2 separate regions of the Homo sapiens genome follow, and region 2 is linked to region 1. Evidence: promoter capture Hi-C in human tissues and cell types (Jung and others, 2019). All regions are on one chromosome and are shown on one strand. Each heading gives the region's core, a stretch centred on a gene start or on the middle of the fragment in contact. The rest is flanking DNA. Distances are from core to core; before and after follow the strand shown.

The links. Contacts are between HindIII fragments. The study calls those that stand out against the background at their distance.
Region 2: a fragment that was not itself captured here is called in contact with the fragment with the promoter of YWHAB in region 1 in 1 of the 25 tissues and cell types used here (dorsolateral prefrontal cortex).

What each region holds. Positions count from the first base shown.
Region 1 is chr20:44,880,929-44,886,954 of GRCh38, forward strand. It overlaps YWHAB (tyrosine 3-monooxygenase/tryptophan 5-monooxygenase activation protein beta), which reads left to right and starts at 4,777. Exons shown (of 6, transcript NM_139323.4): 1 at 4,777-4,958. RefSeq lists silencers at 4,401-4,460, 4,521-5,070 and an enhancer at 4,507-5,123. The HindIII fragment of the contact is 9,752 bases long and covers 1-6,026 here.
Region 2 is chr20:44,544,522-44,550,864 of GRCh38, forward strand. It overlaps a transcript of PKIG not described here. Among named protein-coding and RNA genes, the nearest start is that of SERINC3, 26 kb to the left of the region's middle. The HindIII fragment of the contact is 6,255 bases long and covers 1-4,455 here.

The DNA.
Region 1 (6,026 bases), core at 3,527-6,026:
CTCTGTTTCCAACCTTGGCCAGTTTACCCCTTCTTAGGCAATCTGGTGGTTCCCTGCTCCCGGGAGGTCATCATATTGATGCTGAACTTAGCGCAGACGCCCAGGCAACATAGTGCACTGCAGCCCAGAACTCCTGGCCTCAAGCGATCCTCCTGCCTCAGCCTCCTGAGTAGCTGGGACTACAGGCACGCGCCACCACACCTGGCCAGTTTACTAGTTTCTAACAAAGCTAAACATTGTCTTAACGTATAATCTAACAGTCACACTCTTAGGTATTTACTCAAACAAGTTGAAAACTTATGCCCAAACAAAAACCTGCACACAGATGTTTATCATGGTTTTCTTCATAATTGTCAACAGCTGGATCAAGATAGCTCTCAGTAGGTCTATTAGTTCCCTAAGCCTGCCATAACAAAGGGCCACAAACTGGGTGGCTTAAAACCACAAAAACATATTCTCTCACCATTCTGGAGGCTAGAAGTCTAAAATCAGTGTGACAGCAGAGTCTTGCTCCCTTTGAGACTCTGGGTAGAATCCTTCCATGCCTCTTCCTGGCTTCTGGTGCTGCCCAGCAATCCTTAGTGTTCCCTGGCTCACAGCTCATCACTCCAGTCTCGGCCTCCATTGTCATGTGTTGTTTCCCATGTGTGTCCTGTCTTCAGATGGCATTTTCCTCCTTCTTTAGGGCACCAGCCACGTTGGATTAGGACCCACTCGAATGACCTCATTTTAATTGATTATACTGCAAAAGCCCTTTTCCAAATAAGGTCACATACACAGATTCCAAGGGTGAAAGCTTCAGCATATCTTTCTGGAGGATACAAGTCAATCCTTAAGAATAGGTTAATGGGCCAGGTGTGGTGGCTCACACCCGTAATCCCAGCACTTTGGGAGGCCGAGACAGGCAGATCACCTAAGGTCAGGAGTTTGAGACCAGCCTGGCCAACATGGCAAAACCCTGTCTCTATTAAAAATAAAAAATTAGCTAGGCATGGTGGCACACACCAATAATCTCAGCTACTTGAGAGGCTGAGGCAAGACTCACTTGAACCTGGGAGGCGGAGGTTGCAGTGAGCTGAGATCATGCCACTGCACTCCAGCCTGAGCAACAGAGTGAGACTCTCTCTGGAAAAAAAAAAAGAATAAGTTCATGCATAAACACAATATGGTAGATTCATACAAGGGGATTTTTTAAGCAATCAAAAGAAATAAGTTATCAAATCATAAAAAGACATGAAGGAAACTTAAATCACATTACTTAATAAAACAATCCAGTCAGAAAAGGCGACATATGTGCTGGGTACAATGGCTCACACTTTATTACCCAGCACTTTAGGAGGCCAAGGCAAGAGGATTGCTTGAGCCTGGGTGTTCAAGACCAGCCTGGGCAACATGGCAAAACCCCATCTCTATAAAAAATACAAAAATTAGCTGGGTGTGGTGGCACACGCCTGTAGTCCCAGCTACTAGGGAGGCTGAGGTGGGAGAATCACTTGAACCCAGGAGGTCGAGGCTGCAGTGAGCTGTGATTGCACTACTGCACTCCAGCCTGGGTGACAGAGTGACACCCTGTCAAAAAAAAAAAAAAAGAAGGAAGGAAAGAAAGAAAGAAAGAAAGAAAGAAAGCGAGCAACATATTGTATGATGTAACTATATGACATTCTAGAAAAGGTAAAACTATAGTGTAAAAGGTCTGCGGTTGCCAAAGGTTGGGGTGAGGGGAGGGAGTGAGGGATGAAGAGTTGAAGCAAAGATTTTTAGGACAGTAAAACTTTTATTTATATACATGACATTATGCATGTGTCAAAACCTATAGAACTATGTACAACATAAAGAATGAACCCCAATGTAAACTACGGACTTTAGTTAATAATGATGTATTAATACTGGCTCATCAATTGCAACAAATGTACCACTCTAATACAAGATGTTAATAATAGGGGAAATTGTGTGGAGGAGGGAGAGGGAATGTGGGAACTCTGTAATATCTGGTCAATTTTTCTGTAAACCTAAAACTGTTCTAAAAAATTAAGTCTATTGGCCAGGCACAGTGGCTCACACCTGTAATCCCAGCACTTTGGGAGGCCATGGCAGGAGAATCACTTGAGGCCAGGAGTTTGAGCCCAGCCTGGGCAACATAATGAGACTCTGTCTCTACAAAAACATTTTTAAAAATTAAGTCTATAATTTGAAAAAAGATTCACTGCAGTATATAAGGCTCTAGTATCACTTCTTTAAGGAAATCTTTCCTGCTCTCCCATCATATTCCCAAGATGGGTTAGGTGCTCTTCTCCCAAGCTCCCATAATACCCTGCACATATATTTATTTCTATGGTTGCACCTACCACATTGTATTTTAACATTTATCTGTATCGCTGTCAGTTCATAGCTGTGGTTTGCTGACGCTTGGCCTAGAATGCAGAGATGGTGAAATAAGCTAATCCATTGAACCCTTTAACAGGCACCTAGGAATGCCTGACAAAGGGCACTTCTGTTCCCTCAATGCACTGTTGATGTCATTTGTGGTATAATCATTATTAGCCCTCTGGTCCATTAGGCTATTTTCTGGATGACGGCATAAGGCACAGTCTTGTGACATTAAAAGTTACTTAGCCTGAGTAGTCTCTAGATTACTGGTCTAGGGTCTGCCAAAGACGATCCTCATGGGGAAGTTTTTGCACTAACCTCTCCAGGATTCAAATCCAATGGTTTTGACCCAAAACCATGCTGTTTACGTTACACAACACGTTCTCAATCTTGTTCAACTTAAAAGGTGGCACAGTACAGGGGTCACTGGCACACATGCCTACATGACAGATAACATAAGTGACAAAAGCAGACTCAGGTCGAGAAGGGTCCCTGGCATTTGGGAAAGTCCATGCCCAGTCTAGAACAGGCAGCCACTCCTTGGCTTCAGCCAATTGTTGCCACACAGAAATGTGGACACAGTGTTACCAGACAAGGCAGAGAGGCAGATTTCTGTTCACACAGAAACTTTTCAGTTTAAAAAAGTGTTGGCAACTAAGTCAAACTGCTTAGAAATACTGGAGATGGCATATTGGGAGGGTAAGGAATCATCCAATTGAATTGGGGTATTTACGATGGGGGAGAAATAGCAGCTAAAGGATAAGGGCAGCTTTTGGAGAACCCTGATTGTCACACTCAAGGAACTTATATATTGTCATCTAGGTCTGAGTGCACACTAAATAATTTAAGCAAGAACAGGACACGATTAGAATGGTATTTTTAAAAGATCACTTGGCAGTTGACGGGCGAGGCTGAGACCAAATGGTGAATTAGAAGTCTGTCATTTAGCTAAGTAAGGGTAAAGGCAAGACGGCAAAGGCCTATTTACTTGGCTTTTTCTCCTACCCGACTGCAAACTCCAAGACAGCAGGGCCCCACCTGCCTTGTTCATTGCTGTGTCTCCAGCACTAAGCAAAAAGCCTGTTCAACATTTGTTGAAAGAATAAATGAACAGGAGAGAGGGAAGGCGAGAGGCATTTTGAAGGACTGAGTTTAAAAATCAACTACCTTGAAGCCGGTCGAGGTGGTTCATGTCTGTAATCCCAGCACTTTGGGAGGCTGAGGCGGGTGGATCACCTGAGGTCAGGAGTTTGAGACCAGCCCGGCCAATATGGCGAAGCCCCGTGTCTACTAAAAATACAAAAACTAGCCGAGAGTGGTGGCATGCACCTGTTATCCCAGCTACTCAGGAGGCTGAGGCAGGAGAATTGCTTGAACCTGGGAGGCAGAGATTGCAGTGAGCCAAGATTGTGACACTGCCTGGGCGACAGAAAGAGACTCTGTCTCAAAAACAGAAAACAAAACAAAACAAAACAAAACAAAATCAACTACCTTCAGAGGAGTAGAATGTTGGTAATTGTGAGAGCAGTCATGGAGGGGAGGGGAGCCATGGAGGCCTGTTTCCTTCCCTGAACTTCCTCAACGAGGGGGCATCTTAAAGAAGAAATCATGTACACAGATTTTTGTGGGTTTTTTTTGGAGACAGGGTCTCACTCTGTCTCCCAGGTTGGAGTGCAGTGGCATGACCATAGCTCACTGCAGCCTACAACTCCCGGCCTCAAGCAATCCTCTCACCTCAGCTTCCCAAAGTGCTGAGATTACAGGCGCGAACCACTGCGCTCGACCCTACACAGGTTTTTTAAAAAGACGTTTGTGCATTGGATTCCTGGCACTTCACGTGGCCTCTTCAGTCTACCAAAGAAGGAAAAGGTAAGTACCCTGAAGGATTGAAAGGATTAAATGAACATTGAGGGATGAGCAATTTCTGTTCTTCCCTGGCTCCAGCATTACCAAAGCACACAGTAAGAGGACTGACATCGGCCTCCGACCCAGTGAGGATTACTTTCGGGGTGGAGGGGGAACTGCTAAACCTCGAATCTCCGGGACTGGCCCTGGCGCGTTTCCAGTCCCAGCAGAAAGGGCAATCCCCATCCAGACCACACTCCTAGTCCTCCTTATTCCCACACAGCCCGTATCTTGACCACCCCCAGCTCCGCCCTCTCTCCTCCCACCTCCTTTTCCCGCTCCCCCGCCCCATTTCCTTCTTCTCCGCCCACCTCCTCCTGGGTCCCTCCCCCGGCCATCCGCCCTGCCCCGGCCCCTGCAACCCTGCCTTTCGCTCTTCTTCCTCCTCCCTTCCGTCTGCGCCCCTCCCGTGGGGCCGTGGCAACCCCGTGCCTCGCTTGCCCAATGAGAACACGGTTTGGGGCGGGGCGCGGCCAGGACCGGAGCGGAAGTGGCGATCGGAGCGGAAGTGGAGCTACCGCCACCGCCGCCGCCGATTCCGGAGCCGGGGTAGTCGCCGCCGCCGCCGCCGCTGCAGCCACTGCAGGCACCGCTGCCGCCGCCTGAGTAGTGGGCTTAGGAAGGAAGAGGTCATCTCGCTCGGAGCTTCGCTCGGAAGGGTCTTTGTTCCCTGCAGCCCTCCCACGGTGAGTGCGGCGCGGGGTCCGACCGGGGCCCCCGGGGGCCCAAACTCGAAGCCCCTCTCTGGCTGCTGCGACGACGGCGGCCCAGTGGGTGGGCCCCGTGGGGTAGCGGCGCGCTGCCTCTTTCGCTCCGCGCGGCCGCCGGCGGCGAGGCCAGACCTCGCAGCGGCCCCTCCCTGTTTCCGGGGCCGGGCCCTTTACCTCTTGGAGAGGCTCGGGCCGCCTGAGGTCCTGCCGGCCGGGCGGGGTGCAACTCCGTACTGTGCCGTAAGGGACAGCGGAGCCGGGGATCCCGGACCCTCCCTCACTATCTGCTTCGGGCCCCACGCGACCCCTCCCTGCGTCTTGGTCGGCAAGAACGTCCCCTTCAGCCCTGTCACCTCTGCTCCGTGCTTTCTGGTTTCCAGAAATTAAAATTTAATCAAACGCGGATGAGTTTTCTAGCCCCAGTCCCCGTGTTTGGCTCCTCCTGGATGAGTAAGGGGTTTAACCTTGGGAGACAGCAGTGGGGGAACCCCCTCCCATTTTGCAGTAAAACCATTTCATCATCCTTCACTGGTTATGGAGCCTGGCAGGACCCAAGATTCCCTAGGAAGGGAATTGGGTTTGAATCAAGAAAATCTGTTTGTTGGAGCCGGTTACTGAGTCAGGCCGGATCCCCAGGAAAAAATATCAGGGGGTGAGAATCGGAGTATTTTCTCACAGTATTTACCGTCATTTAATGCCAGATTCTTTTGTGTCTTTACCCCAAATTCCCCCATATTGTGTGTTAGCACGTTTTTCGGTCTGAAATTTGCCCGGTGGCTTCCTGGTCGGGGGGTGGGGAGCGGAGGGAAGAAGAGGTGGGAAGGTGAGTGCATCTTTGCCGCAAATGGAGAACTCCCATATAATGGGGTTTTCAGAGGTGGCAGCCTTGGTAAGCAATTTGCCAACCTTTCTGTAAAATACATGTTTCTTGTCGTTGCCTTCATTGCATTTCTCTTTGGTAAGGCTAGATAGCATCAGGTCCTGATTTTGCTTGCCCTGTGTGGGAGATGGAATTTGGCAAGATGATGCTATGAACATAAAATC
Region 2 (6,343 bases), core at 78-2,577, 340 kb before region 1:
ACACAGCTTGCAGTCACCAAGTGGTCGCACGTGTTGGCTCTGGCTCTCTAGCCAAACGGTCTTTGAGGCAGGAAGAAGTAGGAAAGGGGAGGGCAGAGGACACCCTTTAAAGTACCCTAAGTCCCAACCACCATGTTCAGTTTACATCTCATTGTCCATTCTTACTTGTGAAGAAGGCTGGTAAATGCAGTTTCTTAGCTGTACACATTGCCATTCCCCAAAACAGGGATTCTGCAGCTGTGGAAGAATGAGAAATAGATACAAGCCTGGAAGTGGGCAGTGCCCACCACAGGAGGCGGCCAACAATGTCAGCTATACCCTGTATTTGGAGAAAATTGCAGTTTTTACATTGACTTTCCTCTTTCTTTTCTTTTCTTTTCTTTCTTTCTTTCCTTCCTTCTTTCTTTTTTTTTTTTTTTTTTTTTTTTTTTTGAGATGGAATCTTGCTCTGTGGCCTGAGCTGGAGTACGGTGGCACAATCTTGGTTCACTACAACCTCCACCTCCTGGGTTCAAGCAATTCCCCTGCCTCAGCTTCTGGAGTAGCTAGGATTACAGGCGTGCCCCACCATGCCCAGCTAATTTTTGTATTTTTAGTAGAGACAGGGTTTTGCCATGTTGGCCAGGCCAGTCTCGAACTCCTGACCTCAGGTGATCCACCCACCTTGGCCTCCCAAAGTGCTGGGGTTACAGGTGTGAGCCACTGCGCCTGCAATGCCCGGCCTGCATTATAAATATTTGTTCATAATGTGTTGCTAACAGTGACAATCAATAAGAATCAACTGGGTTTGTTCCCCAGCCTGTTTAGTTTTATTATTGTGATTACAAAATAATTAAATATTATGTTAACCAATGAAATGTAAAGGGAAAAAGGAAAAAAGATACTGCTTTTATGAAAAATAAGTTGAATGTGCTTACCTGATAAAGGCAAATGGCTAAGAAAAAATATTTTTGTCAAATTAGGGGTGGAAGAGACCTCTGAAAAGATTGAAGAAAAAAATTATAAAAATATGGAGATTCTGACAGATAGGGTAACTCTCACCTGTAATCCTAGCACTGGGAGGCTGAGGCAGGAAGATTACTTGAGGCCAGGAGTTTGAGACCAATCTGGGCAACAGTGAGACCCCGTCTCTACAAAAAGAAAATTAGCCAGATGTGGTGGTGTGTCCCTGTAGTCCTAGCTACTTGGGAGGCTGAAGTGGGAGGATCACTTAAGCCCAGGAGTTTGAAGTTACAGTGAACTATCATCACGCCACTGTACTTACTCCAGCCTGGGACACAGAGTAAGACCCTGTCTCCAAAACATATATATACATATATGTTTCTGCCTTCAGAACACTTCACAAGTATCATTCCAGTAAAAACTGAAAATCATAGATGTACATCATGAGTGTAGTTCATGCAGAAACTTTAATTGCTTGAACTTACTCTCAAGAAAAGGCCTTCACTGGGCACAGTGGCTCATGTCTATAATCCCAGCACTTTGGGAGGCTGAGGCAGGTGGATTACTTGAGTCCAGGAGTTCGAGACACAAGCCTGGGAAATACAGCAAAACCCTGTCTCTACAAAAAATACAAAAATTAGCAGGTTGTGGTGGTGCATGCCTGTACTCCCAACTACTCGGAGGCTGAGGTGGGAGAATCACCTGAGCCCAGGGAGGTTGAGGCTGCAGTGAGCCATGATCATGCCATTGCAGTCCAGCATGGGTGACAGGGAGAGACCCTGTCTCAGAGAAGAGAAGGAGAGGAGAGAGGAGAGGAGAGGCTTTCATCCCTTAGCCAGTATTTGGAAAATAAACATGCATTTTTAATGATTCCTCTCTTTAACTGTATTTTTTAAAAAATGAGTTATACCATTATTAGTTCTGATTCCATCAAGGAGAGAACTTCTACTTTGTTTCTTAAGTTGTTATGTATGGGTTACTGTGTATCAATTGAAATGAATATCACCAGGCCTTATTGTTGGTCATTATAAATTGTGCCCTGGTGAACTTCTTTCCAGAGACATCTTCTCTAGTATATTTTTTGTTTTTTTGAGTTCTTTTTTTTTTGAGACAGAGTCTTACTTTGTTGCTTATGCTGGAGTGCAATGGTACAATCTTGGATCACTGTAGCCTCTACCTTCCCAGTTCAGGCGATTCTCCTGCCTCAGCCCCCCGGGTAGCTGGGACTACAGGCATGCACCACCACTCCCGGCTAATTTTTGTATTTTTAGTAGAAACGGGGTTTCACCATGTTGACCAGGTTGGTCTCGAGCTCCTGACCTCAGGTAATTCCACCCGTCTCAGCGTCCCAAAGTGCTGGGATTACAGATATGAGCCACTGCACCCAGGCCCCTCACTGATTTTAAATAATGTGAAGTTTGGAATGTCTCAGGGAGTTCAATGTAATGGAATTTGTCCTGATGTTATTTCTTTTTCCAAATCACATAGCACTTCAAACTTTTCTTTTTATAACATTTCTCATAAATAGTCCTCCTCCATAATTACCTTTGTGTTTATTTTGTGTCTGCTACTAAACTCTTAGCTTGTTGAGGACAGGAGTCCTTCCTTGGACCTCTGTACATCCTAACATACAATGGGTGCTCAATTTATGTTCATGGAATGAGAGAATGAATCAATGTCACTGTCTTCTATTATTGCATAGACATCTTCAGTAACACTTCCTTTGAATTCATTGTCAGTGGAGCTAGTCTTGTAGCCTTTTCAATAGCTTACATTCCGTGTTGGAGCAAAAAATGTTAAATGTTTATAAGGTAATTTCAAATATAAGCAAAAGTAGAGAGAATGGTATAAAGAAACCTCCATTATCTATAATCAAGCTTCAACAATTACCAGCATTTTAGAGCAAATTTTGATTTAGGATAAGGGTAGAGAGAATATGATGACATCAGGATGCTGATTTTGATTTTGTGGGGAGAGAAGCAGGCCATGTGTGGTGAGCAGGGTAGAGAAAGAGGAGGCTGGTGGCCCAAATACAAACCTGCCTCATAGGAGTTGTCTTGAGGATCACTTGAGTTGACATAGGAAAGTGGGAAGAACAATGCCTCACACATGGTGAGTACAGCCTAAGTGCTCCCACCACCATTACTATCACTCCTGCGTAGTTTGTGGGAGCTGAATGTGGGAGCTGTGGCACTTACTAACTTGGTGACTTTGGACACCGACCTTTCTGAGCTGCAGTTTCTTCGTCGGAAAAAATGGGAATAGTAATAACATCTTAAACATAGCATTGGCGGGGCGCGGTTGCTCATTCCTGTAATCCCAGCAGTTTGGGAGGCCAAGGTGGGCGGATCATTTCAATTCAGGAATTTGAGACCAGCCTAACCAACATGGTGTTGGTTTTAATGGAGAACCCTGTTCTCCATTAAAAATAGGCTGGGCATGGTGGCTCATGACTTGTAATTCCAGCACTTTGAGAGGCTGAGGCAGGCGGATCACTGGAGATCAGGAGTTCGAGATCAGCCTGGCCAACATGGTGAAACCTCGTCTCTACTAAAAATACAAAAAATTAGCCGGGTGTGGTGTTGTGCACCTGTAATCCCAGCTACTCAGGATGCTGGGGCAGGAGAATTACTTGAACTTGGGAGGTGGAGGTTGCAGTGAGCCGAGATCGCACAACTGCACTCCAGCCTGGATGATAGAGCAAGACTGTCTAGAAAAACAAAAAAACCCAAAAAAGGTAGCATCTTATCCCACACAGGCAGTGGAATAATATATGTAAATATGTTCTGGGTTAATTAACATTAATCACAATTTTCCAGAGTGGTTTTCTAGTCTGGAGGGAGGGACCATGTTTCTGGAGGTTTTTTCGGGAGTCAAGCCAATTCCTTCTGTGTATTCTCATTCTGAGACTTCATAATATTCGTGGCAGAGTCATTTGTCAGCCTAGCAAATAAACATTACAGGACAATAGGCTTTGTTTCCGTTTGCAAAATGTTTTTTAAATAATGAAAACAATTTTACTTTATGTAGCTTGTCCATATATGCACTGAAAATGAAATACTTATCAACCAAGTTGATAAAGGGATAAAAATAGTTTTCCTAAGGAAAACTATTTGCTGGGGATTTGTGTTGGACAAGTTTTGTAGCAGTCTGTTTCCCCGTCTTTGAAATATAAACAGCATCTTTATTTGTCTAGATTTTGCTTATAACAATTTGCTCAACTCCTAATTAAAGATAGCTCTGTCATCCACACATCACTTAGCTACTTTCCTAAAGCCAGAATTTCTTTAGAAAATCAGTTTTCTTTTAAGACTTCAAAACACTTTGCCTTCTCCTTAGTACTATAAAGAATTCTAATTATGTAGGACATTCATCCAGCCACTCCTCCCACCACACACACACACACACACACACACACACACACACACACACACACACACATATATCTGTCTGAGATAATAATTAGATACTGTGGGAAGAGAAATGAAATATCCCTGATGGTTTTAATAATTTTCTGCAGTGTTTGTTTGGACAAGAAAATCAGCTGTCACATCCCCTGGGTATGAGAGTTATATAAACCCAGATCAGAAAGTCAATGCTGCAGACTTAAATTCTCAGGAAGTTTTAAAACTTTTAAAACTACCACTTGCCTTTTGGATTTGACTTTTTAAAAGTTTGATTTTTGCTTTTTCAGATACTAAACTTTTGGCATTCTTAGTATTTGTGATTTATAGCATCTTGTACTTTTATAGACTTACTTATTCAAACAAACTAAACCCCCACTCTATGCCCAGATAACAAAAAAACACGTACAAGATACAGTTTTATCTCAAAATGAGCAATATCCTGAAGCTATCATTTGGTCCCAGTGACATATGAACTGTTCGTTTTTTTCCCCATATACTGTTCTGTGTAAATGTTCTATTACACAGTCTTTTTTTCTGGATTATTTTTCTGGAGATTTCGTTATACTTTGTTGATGTTTCTTTTCAAAAGCTCCCGCACAAATCATCTCCAGTAGTCATCCAGCCAGTGTTGTACTAGAAGATGTGTTACTTCTAATTTAAACTTCCATTTAAGGCTTGACGCTGTGGCTCACACCTATAATCGCAGCACTTTGGGAGGCCAAGGCAGGAGGATCACTTGAGCCCAGGAGTTCAAGACCAGCCTGGGCAACAAAGTAAAACCCCATCTCTACGAAAAATGGAAAAAAATAGCTGACATGGTATCACATGCTTGTAGTCTCAGCTACTTGGGAGGCTGAGGTGCGAAGATGGCTTGAGCCCGGGAGGTAGAAGCTGCAGTGAGCTGTGTTTGCCCCACTGCACCCCAGCCTGGGTAACAGCATGAGATCTTTTCTCAAAAGAAAACAAACTTCCATTTGAGAAAGTGACAGAAAAGTTTTGGATTTTTGTAATTATAGGAATTCTTTACTTTTCTTTGATAATATTATATCTCTTTCAGTGAAAAGGGAGTTAGGAAGAGATCTAAATGTACTCTTTGATCTTCCTTGTTAATCATTTAAAAATGGAATTCGGAGCTAATTTTAACTTCTGAAGGACCTGGGGGAATTTTATCTAGCACCTGAGGTATACCTTAGTTTTTTATGTATTGAATCTTTAGGACCAGTTTTATTCTTTCATTTAAATATGTAGTGAGCATCTAGTATGTGCTTACCATTGTGCTGTGTGTTTATATATATTATCTCATTTAATTCTCACACAAGCGTTGTTAGATACATAAAAGGGGACTTCAAAAAATTCATGGAAAAAATTGAATTAAAAGATAAAAATGAAAAATATAAACTTTATTTCTCAATATAAACTCCATCAAGTTCAAGGCAATATTGTAGTGATGATACCGGCCATTTAGCCCGTCCCTAAAGAACTGAGGGTTCTGGAAATTTAGCCATATTAATGCAGTCTTTTTTACATTATTAACTGAAAAAAAAAATGGATTCCCTTTAAAGATTTCTTAAGATTAGGAAACAAAAAGAAGTCAGAAAGAGCCAAATCAGGACTGTAAGGTGGATGCATAATGATTTCTGTGCACAGTGATTTCCCATTGAAATCTCGCAAAAATTGCCCTTGTTTGATAAAAGGAATGAGCAGGAGGAGTGTTGTCATGGTGGAGAAGGACTCTGGTGAAGCTTTCCCAGGCGTTTTTGTGCTAAAGCTTTGGCCACTGTGCCCAGCCACAACTTTCATTTTGTTAAGTCATCTAATCCTTACAACTGCTCCATGAAATAGGTACTATTATTATCCTTATGTTACAGATGGAGAAACTGAGGCAGAGAGCGGGACAGTAACCTGCCTAAGGTCCCAGAGCTCTAGAGTCAGTGGTCTTAACCTCTATTATGACCTCTCACTTAATGAGGGCCAGATTTCCCCTCTAGCTTTTT